3 separate regions of the Homo sapiens genome follow, and regions 1 and 2 are each linked to region 3. The links are contacts of gene promoters, found by promoter capture Hi-C in blood cells and fetal thymus (Javierre and others, 2016). All regions are on one chromosome and are shown on one strand. Each heading gives the region's core, a stretch centred on a gene start or on the middle of the fragment in contact. The rest is flanking DNA. Distances are from core to core; before and after follow the strand shown.

Evidence for each region. The method cuts DNA at HindIII sites, captures the fragments that hold promoters and counts their contacts. A CHiCAGO score of 5 or more calls a contact.
Region 1: a contact is called between a fragment that was not itself captured here and the fragment with the promoter of LENG8-AS1 in region 3, in 1 of 17 cell types (naive CD4 T cells). The highest score is 5.2, in naive CD4 T cells.
Region 2: a fragment that was not itself captured here is called in contact with the fragment with the promoter of LENG8-AS1 in region 3 in 1 of 17 cell types (non-activated CD4 T cells); the score reaches 5.5 in non-activated CD4 T cells.

Annotation. Positions count from the first base shown.
Region 1 is chr19:51,358,304-51,362,368 of GRCh38, reverse strand. The region is part of intron 1 of ETFB (electron transfer flavoprotein subunit beta); the gene reads left to right. Among named protein-coding and RNA genes, the nearest start is that of ETFB, 6.1 kb to the left of the region's middle. The HindIII fragment of the contact is 2,377 bases long and covers 332-2,708 here.
Region 2 is chr19:51,336,926-51,340,689 of GRCh38, reverse strand. VSIG10L (V-set and immunoglobulin domain containing 10 like) reads left to right here. Exons shown (of 10, transcript NM_001163922.3): 3 at 1-257; 4 at 391-675; 5 at 1,548-1,802; 6 at 2,482-2,760; 7 at 3,156-3,452. It overlaps VSIG10L-AS1 (VSIG10L antisense RNA 1), which reads right to left and starts at 670. Exons shown (of 5, transcript NR_186316.1): 1 at 1-670. RefSeq lists silencers at 517-786, 1,437-1,776. The HindIII fragment of the contact is 6,332 bases long and covers 1-3,764 here.
Region 3 is chr19:54,446,763-54,450,393 of GRCh38, reverse strand. LENG8-AS1 (LENG8 antisense RNA 1) reads left to right here and starts at 1,356. Exons shown (of 3, transcript NR_126418.1): 1 at 1,356-1,832; 2 at 2,179-2,229. It overlaps LENG8 (leukocyte receptor cluster member 8), which reads right to left and starts at 1,195. Exons shown (of 16, transcript NM_052925.4): 1 at 1,084-1,195. RefSeq lists an enhancer at 538-1,445. The HindIII fragment of the contact is 2,202 bases long and covers 229-2,430 here.

The DNA.
Region 1 (4,065 bases), core at 271-2,770, 3.1 Mb after region 3:
TGACCTCAGGTAATCCACCCGCCTCAGCCTCCCAACGTGCTGGGATTACAGGTGTGAGCCACTGTGACCAGCTGCAATAAGTGTTTTTATTGGGAGTAGTAGTAATGGATGTTTAGTTAGTCATTTATTCAAAACATAACAAATGCTGTGCTCAGAGTGTATTCGTGTGTGTGTGTGTGTGTGTGTGTGTGTGTGTGTGTGTGTGTATGTGTGTCCGGCTGTGTGTATGTTTCTGGGTATGTGCGTGTATCTAACATTTTAATAGGTATTTGGCAACTCAGTAACACCCTGTCCTGTTCAGGGGCACATTTTACAGGAAGCTGATGAAGCTTAACCTTCAGGGCCTCTTTCAAGACCCCAGGAGAAAGGCTGGGCCTGGTGGCTCACGCCTGTAAACACACACTTTGGGAGGCTGAGGTGGGTGGATCACGAGGTCAGGAGTTCAAGACCATCCTAGCCAACAGAGTGAAACTCTGTCTCTACTAAAAATACAAAAATTAGCTGGGCATGGCGGCGCGTGCCCGTAGTCCCAGCTACTCGGGGGGCTGAGGCAGAAGAATCGCTTGAACCAGGGAGGCGGAGGTTGCAGTGAACCGAGATCGTGCCACTGCACTCCAGCCTGGGTGACAGAGGGAGACTCCGTCTCACAAAAAAAAAAAAAAAAAAAAAAACCCAGGAGAGGCTGGGCAATTTTGTATTCATTATCTGGGATTCATTTTCTTAGAGATGACCCCACAGGATAGAAACTCCAGGCCCAGAAAACGTGTTTCCATCTCGGGGCCCAACCCCGACCAGCCACACCCTCTCGTCTGGGAGCGCCTGGTGTTTCTTCAGGTTTTCCTCTTTGGGCTCCACGCACTTGCCCCTCCTGCTCTCAGCAAGGCCACCTTGTCTGACAGGGCACACGTGGGGCTCACATGTCACCTCAGGGACGAGTTCTCTGTCTGCCCCCCGCCGAGTTAGTGATCTGTCACTGGGGTGGCTCCCTGGCCTTGGCTGTCCTGCTTGCTGAGTGCCCTAGCACGTGCCCAGGGACTCGCTTGACAGAAAAGCCTAGAGGACAGAACCACACAAGTCCTTGAGCTGTGTCAGGGGTTCAGGAAGAGCTGTCGAAAATCACTTTATAAAATCCCTCTTGGGCCGGGCGTGGTGGCTCACACCTGTAATTCCAGCATTTTGGGAGGCCGAGGTGGGCGGATCACCTGAGGTCAGGAGTTCGAGACCAGCCTGGCCAACATGACGAAACCCCATCTCTACTAAAAATAAAAAAATTAGCCAGGCGTGGGCCGGGCGCGGTGGCCCACACGTGTAATCTCAGCACTTTGGGAGGCTGAGGCGGGTGGATCACAAGGTTAGGAGATTGAGACCATCCTGGCTAACACGGTGAGACCTTGTCTCTACTAAAAATACAAAAAATTAGCCAGGCGTGGTGGCAGGCGCCTGTAGTCCCAGCTACTGGGGAGGCTGAGGCAGGAGAATCGCTTGAACCCAGAAGGTGGAGTTTGCAGTGAGCCAAGATCATACTACTGCACCCCAGCCTGGGCAACAGAACAAGACTCTGTATCAAAAAGAAAGAGAAAGAGAGAGAGAGAGAGAGAGAGAAAGAGAGAAAGAAAAGAGAAGAGAAGAAAATCCCTCTTGCCTGCAGTGGACAACAAATAGGAAGACTGGCTCTCCTAACACCGTGGGCACACGTAGCCTCTTTCAGAGTCTCACAGTTCCCAAGACAGATTTGGGGTTAGACCCGTGGTCCTGCCACTTCCATGCTCAGTGGCCCTGGCCAAGGTACTTGGCCTCTCTGTGCCTCAGTTGCCTCATCTGTAAAATGAGAGGTAATGGCAGTAACCAACCTCACAGGCTACTAGGATGGTCAAACGAGTTAATGCATATAAAACCCTTGACTCGTTGTCTGCATGGGTCAGTGCTGCTTTTAAAAAAATTTTTTTTTTCTTTTCTTTTTTTTTTTTTGAGATAGAATCTGGTCTGTCACCCAGGCTGGAGTGCATTGATGTGATCCCTGCTCACTGCAACCTCCACCTCCCGGGTTCAAGTGATTCTCCTCCCTCAGCCTCCCAACTAGCTGGAATTACAGGCATGTGCTAAAACGCTCGACTAATTTTTGTATTTTTAGTAGAGATGGGGTTTTACCATGTTGGCCAGGCTGGTCTCGAACTCCTGACCACAAGTGATCCACCCACCTCAGCCCCACAAAGTGCTGGGATTACAGGTGTGAGCCGCCACGCCCAGCTTTGAGGCTGTTTTTGATATTGGTGGATATGTCGTCTCTTTAAGAGAAAGCCAGCACTTAATGCTGAATGATTTACCTCAATTATAAAACTTTTTTTTTTTCTTTTTGAGACAAGGTCTAGCTCTGTCACCCAGGCTAGAGTGGTACAGTCACAGCTCGCTGCAGCCTCGACCCTCCTGGGTTCAAGCCGTCCTCCCACCTCAGCCTCCTCAGTAGCTGGGACTACAGGTGCACGCCACCATGACCTGCTAATTTTGTTTTTTGGTAGAGATGAAGTCTCTCTATGTTGCCCAGGCTGGTCTTGAAATCCTGGGCTCCAGTGATCCTCCTTCCTCAGTCTCCTAAGGTGCTGGGATTACAGGCATGAGCCATCATTATTTAAAAAACAAACAAGCTATCATTTTTCAGCCCTACCATTGTTTCCTGACTTATGTAATATAACTAAACTGTTTTTGAAGCTTAAAATCAACTCAAGCTTAATTGAGAAGATGAGCTAGTTTGTTTCCTCAGGTGTGTGTGCGTGCGTGTGTGTGTGTGTGTCTGGAAAGTTCTTACCCTTTCTCCTCAGGAGTCAGGAGCCTGGGAATCAGGAGCTTAGGGCTGGGAGTTCTGCCAGAGCAAGAGCAAGATGTGGCTTGAGGCCCTTCAGAAGCCTCCCTGACTCACAGCAAGAAGCTTGGGGCCTCTTACTGATGGGTGGATGAGGTTCTTTTCTGTCTTAAAGGGGCAACTCCTATGTTGTGTTTTTTTTTTTAAGAAAAAAGGCCAGGCACTGCGACTCACACCTGTAATCCCATCACTTTGGTAGGCTGAAGCAGGCGGATCACTTTAGGCCAGGAGTTCCAGACCAGCCTGGGAAACACGGGGAAATCCTTTCTCTACAAAAAGTAAAAAAAAAAAAATTAGCCCGGCATGATGGTGCCCGCCTGTGGTCCCAGCTACTGGGGAGGCTGAAGTGGGAGGATCACCTGAGCCCGGGAGGTGGAGGTTGCAGTAAGGCAAGGTGGCACCTCTGCACTCCAGCCTGGGCAACGAGAGAGATGAAAATAACAGTTCTTTCTCTTTCCTCTCCTCTTCCAGCTCCTTCTCCTCTTTCTCCTTTTTCTTTTTCTTTTTCTTTTTTGAGATGAGGTCTTGCTCTGTCACCCAGGTTACATGTAGTGGCATGATCACGGCTCACTGCACCCTTGACCTCCTGGGCTCAGGTGATCCTCCCGCCTCAGCCTCCTGAGTAGCTGGGACTACAGGTGTGTGCCACCATACCTGGCTGTTTTTTTTTTTTTTTTTTTGTTGTTGTTTGTTTGTTTGTTTTGAGGCGGAGTCTTGCTCTGTCGCCCAGGCTGGAGTGCCGTGGCGCAATCTTGGCTCATTACAACCTCCACCTCCTGGGTTCAAGCAATTCTCCCTGCCCCAGCCTCTGAGTAGCTGCAATTACAGGCGTGCACTACCATGCCCGGCTAATTTTTTATTTTATTTTTATTTTTAGTAGAGATGGGGTTTTGCCATGTTGGCCAGGCTGGTCTTGAACTCTTGACCTCAGGTGATCCGCCCACCTTGGCCTCCCAAAGTGCTGGGATTACAGGCATGAGCCACCACGCCCAGCTGTTTTTGTTTTTGTTGTTGTTGTTTGTAGAACCTGTTGCCCAGGCTAGTATCCAACTCCTGGGCACAAGTGATCCTCCCACCTTGGCCTCCCAAATTTCTGGGATTACAGACAGGAGCCACTGCGCCCGGTCTCAGTCCTCCATCTTTTAATGTTACCCTCTCCATGAGGCACAGCCAGAGTGGGAAGCCCCTTATGGGTCCCACCTTCTCAT
Region 2 (3,764 bases), core at 1,130-3,629, 3.1 Mb after region 3:
AGAGACAGAGGAGGGGGCGGCCGAGCTCCGGCTGCGCTGCCTGGGGTGGGGGCCAGGTCGCGGGGAGCTGAGCTGGAGCCGGGACGGACGCGCCCTGGAGGCGGCGGAATCGGAGGGAGCCGAGACGCCCCGGATGCGCTCAGAGGGCGACCAGCTGCTCATCGTGCGCCCTGTGCGCAGCGACCACGCCCGGTACACTTGCCGCGTCCGCAGCCCCTTCGGCCACAGGGAGGCTGCCGCCGACGTCAGCGTCTTCTGTGAGTGGGGGATGCCTCGGGTCGGGGACAGGGGGTCCTTGGGGAGAAGCGGGCTGGGGACCCAGTCTCCGGGAGTCCTAGCGGCGTCCCAGGTGACCCTGACACTCGCGGTCCCGACCCCTCCTCCCTCCAGACGGCCCGGACCCGCCGACCATCACGGTCTCCTCGGACCGCGACGCCGCGCCTGCCCGCTTTGTCACCGCGGGCAGTAACGTGACCTTGCGCTGCGCCGCCGCCTCGCGGCCGCCCGCCGACATCACGTGGAGCCTGGCGGACCCGGCCGAGGCCGCGGTGCCCGCGGGGTCGCGCCTCCTGCTGCCCGCGGTCGGACCGGGCCACGCAGGCACCTACGCCTGCCTGGCGGCGAACCCGCGTACCGGCCGCCGCCGCCGCTCGCTGCTCAACCTTACAGTGGCGGGTGAGAGGCTGGAGCGGGAGTAGGGGAATGCCTGGGAGAGGGGCGGGGCCAGAACGAGGGCGGGGCTAGAGGAAAGGGGCGGGGCCAGCAAGGAGGAGCAGCATACCGGTGGGTGGGGCAGGGCCAGCGGGAGGGCGGGTCACCAAGAAGGAGCTGGGATACCCGTGGTGGGGCGGGCCAGCGCGGAGGGGCGGAGACACCTAGGATAAGAGGCGGGGCCAGAAAGAGGATAAGGGAAGGAGCCAAATAGAGTGGCAGGGATGACCAGGACTGACGGGCCGGCCCAGCACTGAGAGGGCGGACATTCCTGGGCATGGAACACTCGACAAAGTCGACAAGCGGAGTTAAATGGCAAAGAGTGGGAGTTAGAAAAGGAAAGAACTAATTTGCTTAAGTGGGATCAGCAAAGGGAGAAGTTACCTGGCAAGGGGGGCGGAGTCACCAGGGAAAGGGGCGAGGTCATTTAGAAAGCGGGCAGAATTGTCTTAGAAAGGGGAAGGGGTCCACAAGGAAGGGCGGAGATATCTGGGAAAAGGGGAGGCTTCTCGGAGTGCAATCCAGGAGGGGGCGAAGTAACCTGGCAGAAGTGGGTGGAGCTGGAAAGGAAGGGGCTGAGTTACGTTTGGGAAGAGAAATATCATTGTGTGAAGATGCAGTTTTCTTAAGAAAGTTGGGCAGTCAGCAGGGCTGCGGGCTACCCACTTAGCGAGGAAGTTAATGGGAAAAGGGAACGGGATCGCAGGAAAAGTGGGGAGTGTGAGCGCCTATGGGGTGGGGCTAGTGAAGAAGGGTGGAGTCACCGCGCGGGGAGGCGGGGCTGGAGAAGAAATGAGAAAGGGACTCCATCTTCATTCTCTCCCTTCTCTCCGCAGACCTGCCCCCCGGGGCCCCACAGTGCTCAGTTGAAGGGGGTCCCGGGGACCGCAGCCTCCGCTTCCGCTGCTCGTGGCCCGGCGGGGCCCCTGCTGCCTCCCTGCAGTTCCAGGGTCTCCCCGAAGGCATCCGCGCCGGGCCAGTGTCCTCTGTGCTGCTGGCGGCCGTCCCCGCCCACCCCCGGCTCAGCGGCGTCCCCATCACCTGCCTTGCTCGCCACCTGGTGGCCACGCGTACCTGCACAGTCACGCCGGGTGAGAGGGCGCGGGGCTTTTTTGCTGTTTCTCGAGGAGGAGGGAGACTTTTTCTTTGGTCCTTCGAAAATTCTGAAGGGGTATGGGGTACGTCCTTAGTCCAAGAAAGAGGCAGGACTTCACTGTCTTCAAACTAGAAAAGGGACAAAGATTTTCCTATACCTCATGGTGGCGGGGTGCAGGGATGGGGGTATTTTTCTGGACACAGGAAGAAGGCCATCACTTTCACACGTGTTCAGAGAGATAAAGCAGTGATATTTTAAAAAGTAACAAGGCCGGGCGCAATAATCGCAGCACTTTGGTAGCTGGGGGCGGGAGGATTGCTTGAGTCTAGGAGTTCAAGACCAGCCTGGGCAGTGTGGCAAGACCCAGTCTTGTAATTATTATTGCTACAAAATAATAATAATAATAAAGAAGAAAGAATAGCTGAAAATAATATGAGTTTCCCAGTACAGGGCCTGCGCCTATGGTATGTGTTCAATAAGTGTTTGATGAGGAAATCAGATAATAAATGAATGAATGAATGAATGAGCTAATGAGTGAGTAAATTGGCAGTTCTTTCTCAGGTGGCCAAAGCGTGGGGGCTTACCACCATCTGATTTAAAGTAGGGCATAGGATCTGTTCTTTGAATCCAAGGTAAGGTCTTGACTTTCTTAACTGGACTTCTCCCACCGGCAGAGGCCCCCCGAGAGGTGCTGCTGCATCCGCTGGTGGCAGAGACACGGTTGGGGGAGGCAGAGGTGGCACTGGAGGCCTCTGGTTGTCCCCCACCCTCACGGGCATCCTGGGCCCGGGAAGGGAGGCCCCTGGCTCCAGGAGGCGGGAGTCGCCTGCGGCTCAGTCAAGATGGGCGGAAACTCCACATCGGCAACTTCAGCCTGGATTGGGACCTGGGAAATTACTCCGTGCTGTGCAGTGGGGCGCTGGGTGCTGGCGGTGACCAGATCACCCTCATTGGTGAGCCACGTTATTTCAAAAAACCCTGAAGTCCACGTCCCCAGCCGCTCCAGCCCTCAGACCCAGAAGTTCAGGCCCCAGACCTCTCCTCCCTCAGACCTCGGATCCAGGCCCCCAGCCTCTCCTCCCTCAGACCCTGGAGTCCAGGCCTCAGCCCCTCCTCCCTCAGACCCAAGGGTCTAGCCCCAGCCCCTCTTCCCTCAGACCCAGGAGTCCAGGTCACCAGCCCCTTCCACCCTCAGATCCAGGAGTCCAGGCCCCCACCCCCTCCTCCCTCAGACCCAAGAGTCCAGGCCCCCAGCCCCCTCCCCCTCAGACCCAGGAGCCCAGCCCCCCAGCCCCCTTCCCTCTCCCCTCTGGCACCCAAGAATCCAGCCACCCCCACATCCCTCTAGGACCCTCCATATCCTCGTGGAGGCTTCAGAGAGCCAGAGATGCAGCCGTGCTGACTTGGGATGTGGAGCGCGGGGCCCTGATCAGCAGTTTTGAGATCCAGGCATGGCCAGATGGGCCTGCTCTGGGCAGGACTTCCACCTACAGGGACTGGGTCTCCCTGCTCATCCTGGGGCCTCAGGAGCGGTCAGCCGTGGTGCCCCTTCCACCTCGGAACCCAGGGACCTGGACCTTTCGGATCCTGCCCATCCTGGGGGGCCAGCCAGGGACTCCATCACAAAGCCGGGTCTACCGGGCCGGTGAGTTGGGGCTGTCAGAGTAGACCTTCTCTGTTGTGCCAGATCCTCCGTGTCTCCCTGTTTTAGTGTCCTGGGGCCTGCCCTAACAAAGTACCATGAACTGCATGGCTTGAGACTACAGGAATTTCTTCTCTCACAGGTCTGGAGGTCAGAAGTCTAAAATCAAGGTGTCGGCTGGGCGCGGTGGCTCACGCCTGTAATCCCAGCACTTTGGGAGGCCAAGGCGGGTGGATCACGAGGTCAGGAGATCGAGACCATCCTGGCTCACACGGTGAAACCCCGTCTCTACTAAAAATACAAAAAATTAGCCTG
Region 3 (3,631 bases), core at 107-2,606:
TGGTCGTTGAGCGTTCCTGAGAATGCCAACGTGAACCCCAACGTGAAGAAATGGGTTCTTAGCACTGACAGACTGATTTCAAAAAGGTCTCCGAAGGGCAGTAAAGAGACCTACGTGGGAGTCCTCAGTGGGACTACCCCTGCCTGCTTCCACGGGAGGTTCCCGGAAGCAGGGGTAGGGCTGGGAGAGAAAAGGGATCACCGTGGTTGGGTGTCTGGACATAAAGCTTTGGGAATGCCAAAGAAGACCCAAAACATGTTCAACGAATTAAGAGTGGGGTACAGAGAGAATTGGAAGAAAAGTGGAGTGTCTCCGGAGCAAGGATTCAGGAGCCTAAACTCCCGAGAGGGAGTAACTGATAAGTAGGATAATTAATCCCGCAGGAGAACCGGAATTCCCACGAGTTGACGGGATAGGAACGGGAGTCTGGAGCTGGGGAAAAGCCCTAGAAACGCAAAGGCTTAACTTAAACAGGACACAGGGCGTGGGTGGAGACGAGGGATCGTGGCGGGGACACAGGAAGAGGAGCCCCAGGGCAGAAGGGAGATTAGAGGTAAGGTCAGGAGTTGGGGGCTGGACAGAGGACTCCCGGACGGGTCTCAAGAACAGAGACAGGCATCAGACGCGAGGCCTGAGGTCCCGGGAGCACCTGGCCGTCCCGCAGGCTGGGCGAAGGCAAAGGAGGACGCCGGGTGGAGGAGGCCGCTCGGATCCCCACGACTAGCCACGGAGCCACTGCCCAGGCCGCGCCTGCGCACCACGCCCCAGAAAGACGCGCAGGAGCCGCCCGTCGCCCGGGGCAACACCCGGTCAACGGCGAGTGAGGGGCGCCCCGGGGCCCCGAGAACTCCAAGGGAGAGGAACGGAAATTAGAAGACGACGGCGCACGCGCGCTAGTGCCCGAACGCGCGGCCCCAGGCCCGGTGCGCAGGCGCAGTGGCTGCCCCTGCGCCGCCACACCCTGTCGACGCTCGCGCGCGGCGTCTGCTGCTGCGACGGCCGAGAAGGCCTCGGGGCTCGCGGGGCGCAAGACCAAAAGGAGATGCTATCCCCGCCCGCCTGCTCGCCTGCCGCTCCCCTTACCAACCAGGATCCTTCGCTGCAGGGACACGCCAACAACCACCCAGGCGATCAGCAACACGGCCACGACACCGCTGTGCCACCCGGCTGGCTCTGGTCTTCTTTGGCTTCGACGTCCTGACCGCGGCGTCCTGACGTCACGCGGCGGCCTTGCACCGCCTCCCTCGGCCCTGCACAGCCAATGAACGCCACGAGCTGCGCTTGAGCCCGCCTTCCTGCCCACGCACTTACGCATGAACATTTTAAGGCAGACCGGAAGTCTGGGTGGGGACGGTGGCCCCGAGGAGACAAGCGTGGCCGCATTAGCTCTTTCTGCCTCCCACGCAGCCTTATTTTTTTTATTGTTGTTTTCTTGTTGCTGTTGTTGTTGTTCTCGGAGACGGAGTCTTGCTCTTGCTCTGTCGTCGCCCACGATAGAGTACAGTGGCGTGATCTCTGCTCACTGCAACCTCCGCCTCCTGGGTTCAAACAATTCTGCCTCAGCCTCCGGAGTAGCTGGGATTACAGGCGCGCGCCACTATGCCCGGCTAATTTTTGTGTTTTTAGTAAAGACGGGGTTTCACCATGTCGGCCAGGCTGTTCTCGAACTCCTGACCTCGTGATCCCTCCGTCTCGGCTTCCCAAAGTGCTGGGATTACGGGCGTGAGCCACCGTGCCCGGCCGCAGCCTTGTTTTGACTGAGTCAGTGGGAGCCATTACTGTTCCTAAATGTAAACTGGCGTGACAGGAGTTCCGGGATTGTCCACAGCACGGTGATGTGGAAGCCCTGGGGAGAGAATGATAAAGAAAGGGGATGAGGAACAGCTCCACCCGGAAGAGCGGGCTTCCCTAGCAAATGAATCTGGAAGGGCGCAGGGGAGGGGGCACGGCGAGTTCAGATGGACCGAGGCTGGAAGCTGACGCGGTTGGAGGGGGATGGGTGTAGCTGTTGGCAGTGGCGCTGGGGTGGAAGTGTGTGGGGTCACAGATGTGTAAGGGTGGGCGCGGAGCAGACCCCCGAAGGTCCCTGAGGTCAGGCTGAGGCATTGGACCAAATCCGTACATAGGCATTTCTCTGAACTGCGCGCCACCTTTTGAGTGCCATCTGTTTCCGTCCAGGACTCTGATACAACTATCCAGTCCGCTGCAGGGACCGGTCACTGTGTCACAGTAAGTGGTGGGATTTAAGAGGCAGTTTTCCTCCTCATGTTCTACCATTATGAACGTCTAGCTTGAAAAATACATACCATTTTCATAACTACGTATTATTTTGTTAGTGCTAGCATAGTAGATCTTTTTCCGTTATTTTACTCTGTGGGGGGGGGGGGGTTTGTTTTGTTTTTGTTTTTGTTTTCTTTTTGGTACTAAGCTTTTTGTTCTGGAATAATTTTGGATTTATTCAAAACGTTGCAAAGACCGGGCGCGCTGGCTCACGCCTGTAATCCCAACACTTTGGGAGGCCGAGATGGGTGGATCACCTGGGGTCAGGAGTTCAAGATCAGCCTGGCCAACATGGTGAAGTCCCGTCTCTACTAAAAATACAGAAATTAGCTGGGCGTGGTGGCGCGTGCACCTGTAATCCCGGCTACTCGGGAGGCTGAGGCAGGAGAATCGCTTGAACCCAGGAGGCCAAGGTTGCAGTGAGCCGAGGTTACACCATTGCACTCCAGCCTGGGCAACAAGAGTGAAATTCTTGTCTCAAAAAAAAAAAAAAGAAAAGTTGCAAAGATCATAAGCAGTCCACCATGTTTTATGCCCACTTTCTTCTGATGCTGTCATCACAAGCACCAACAAAAGTGGTTTGTTGTAGATACTGACATGATGCATTACTGTAACTAAAACCCAGACTTTACTGGGATTTCACCACCTTTTCCTCCAATGTTTTCTTTACATGCCAGGGTACAAGCCAGGACCCACGTTCCATTTAGCTTCCTTTTACCTGTTGTATTTAGGGTGGGTTTCTTGTAGATAGCATGTAGTTGGATCTTGCTTTTTTTTGCCCAAGCGAACAGTCTCTGCCTTTTAAAAGAGGTGTTTATAACTGTACTTTTATTTTTTATGTCTTATTCTTTAGCATTCTGTACACAGATACAGCGATAAAATGAAATGACTGGAACTTAAATGTGAAAACTCTTTACAAGTAAGCCCACAATTAGATACATTTATCTTACATGTCAGGGAAAAAAATTATGTAAACAGGACAAATTATATCACAAAAGAATCCCAAAGTAGAAAAAATACCTAAGAAATGTGTCTAACCATGAAAAGTACTGTTCTCTTGGTGTCTTCACATCGTGTCTTCTGTGTACTTAAGTACAAAACATTGTTGCCTCTGATTAATGCACCCTGTACTTATTTTTCTGTTGTCCAGTTACATATTTGGTTGGTTCCAGGGCTATGTTCATGTAGCCATCCAGGCAAACCAGCACCCCTCCCTTAATCCACTTCAGAATTTTACCCCAACTGTCTGATGATGTGCTCTAAGAAGTCACTAGGGGATTGCTTTTCTTAAAAAATCTATTATTATTATTATTTTTTGAGACGGCTCTGTCGCCCAGGCTGGAGTGCAGTA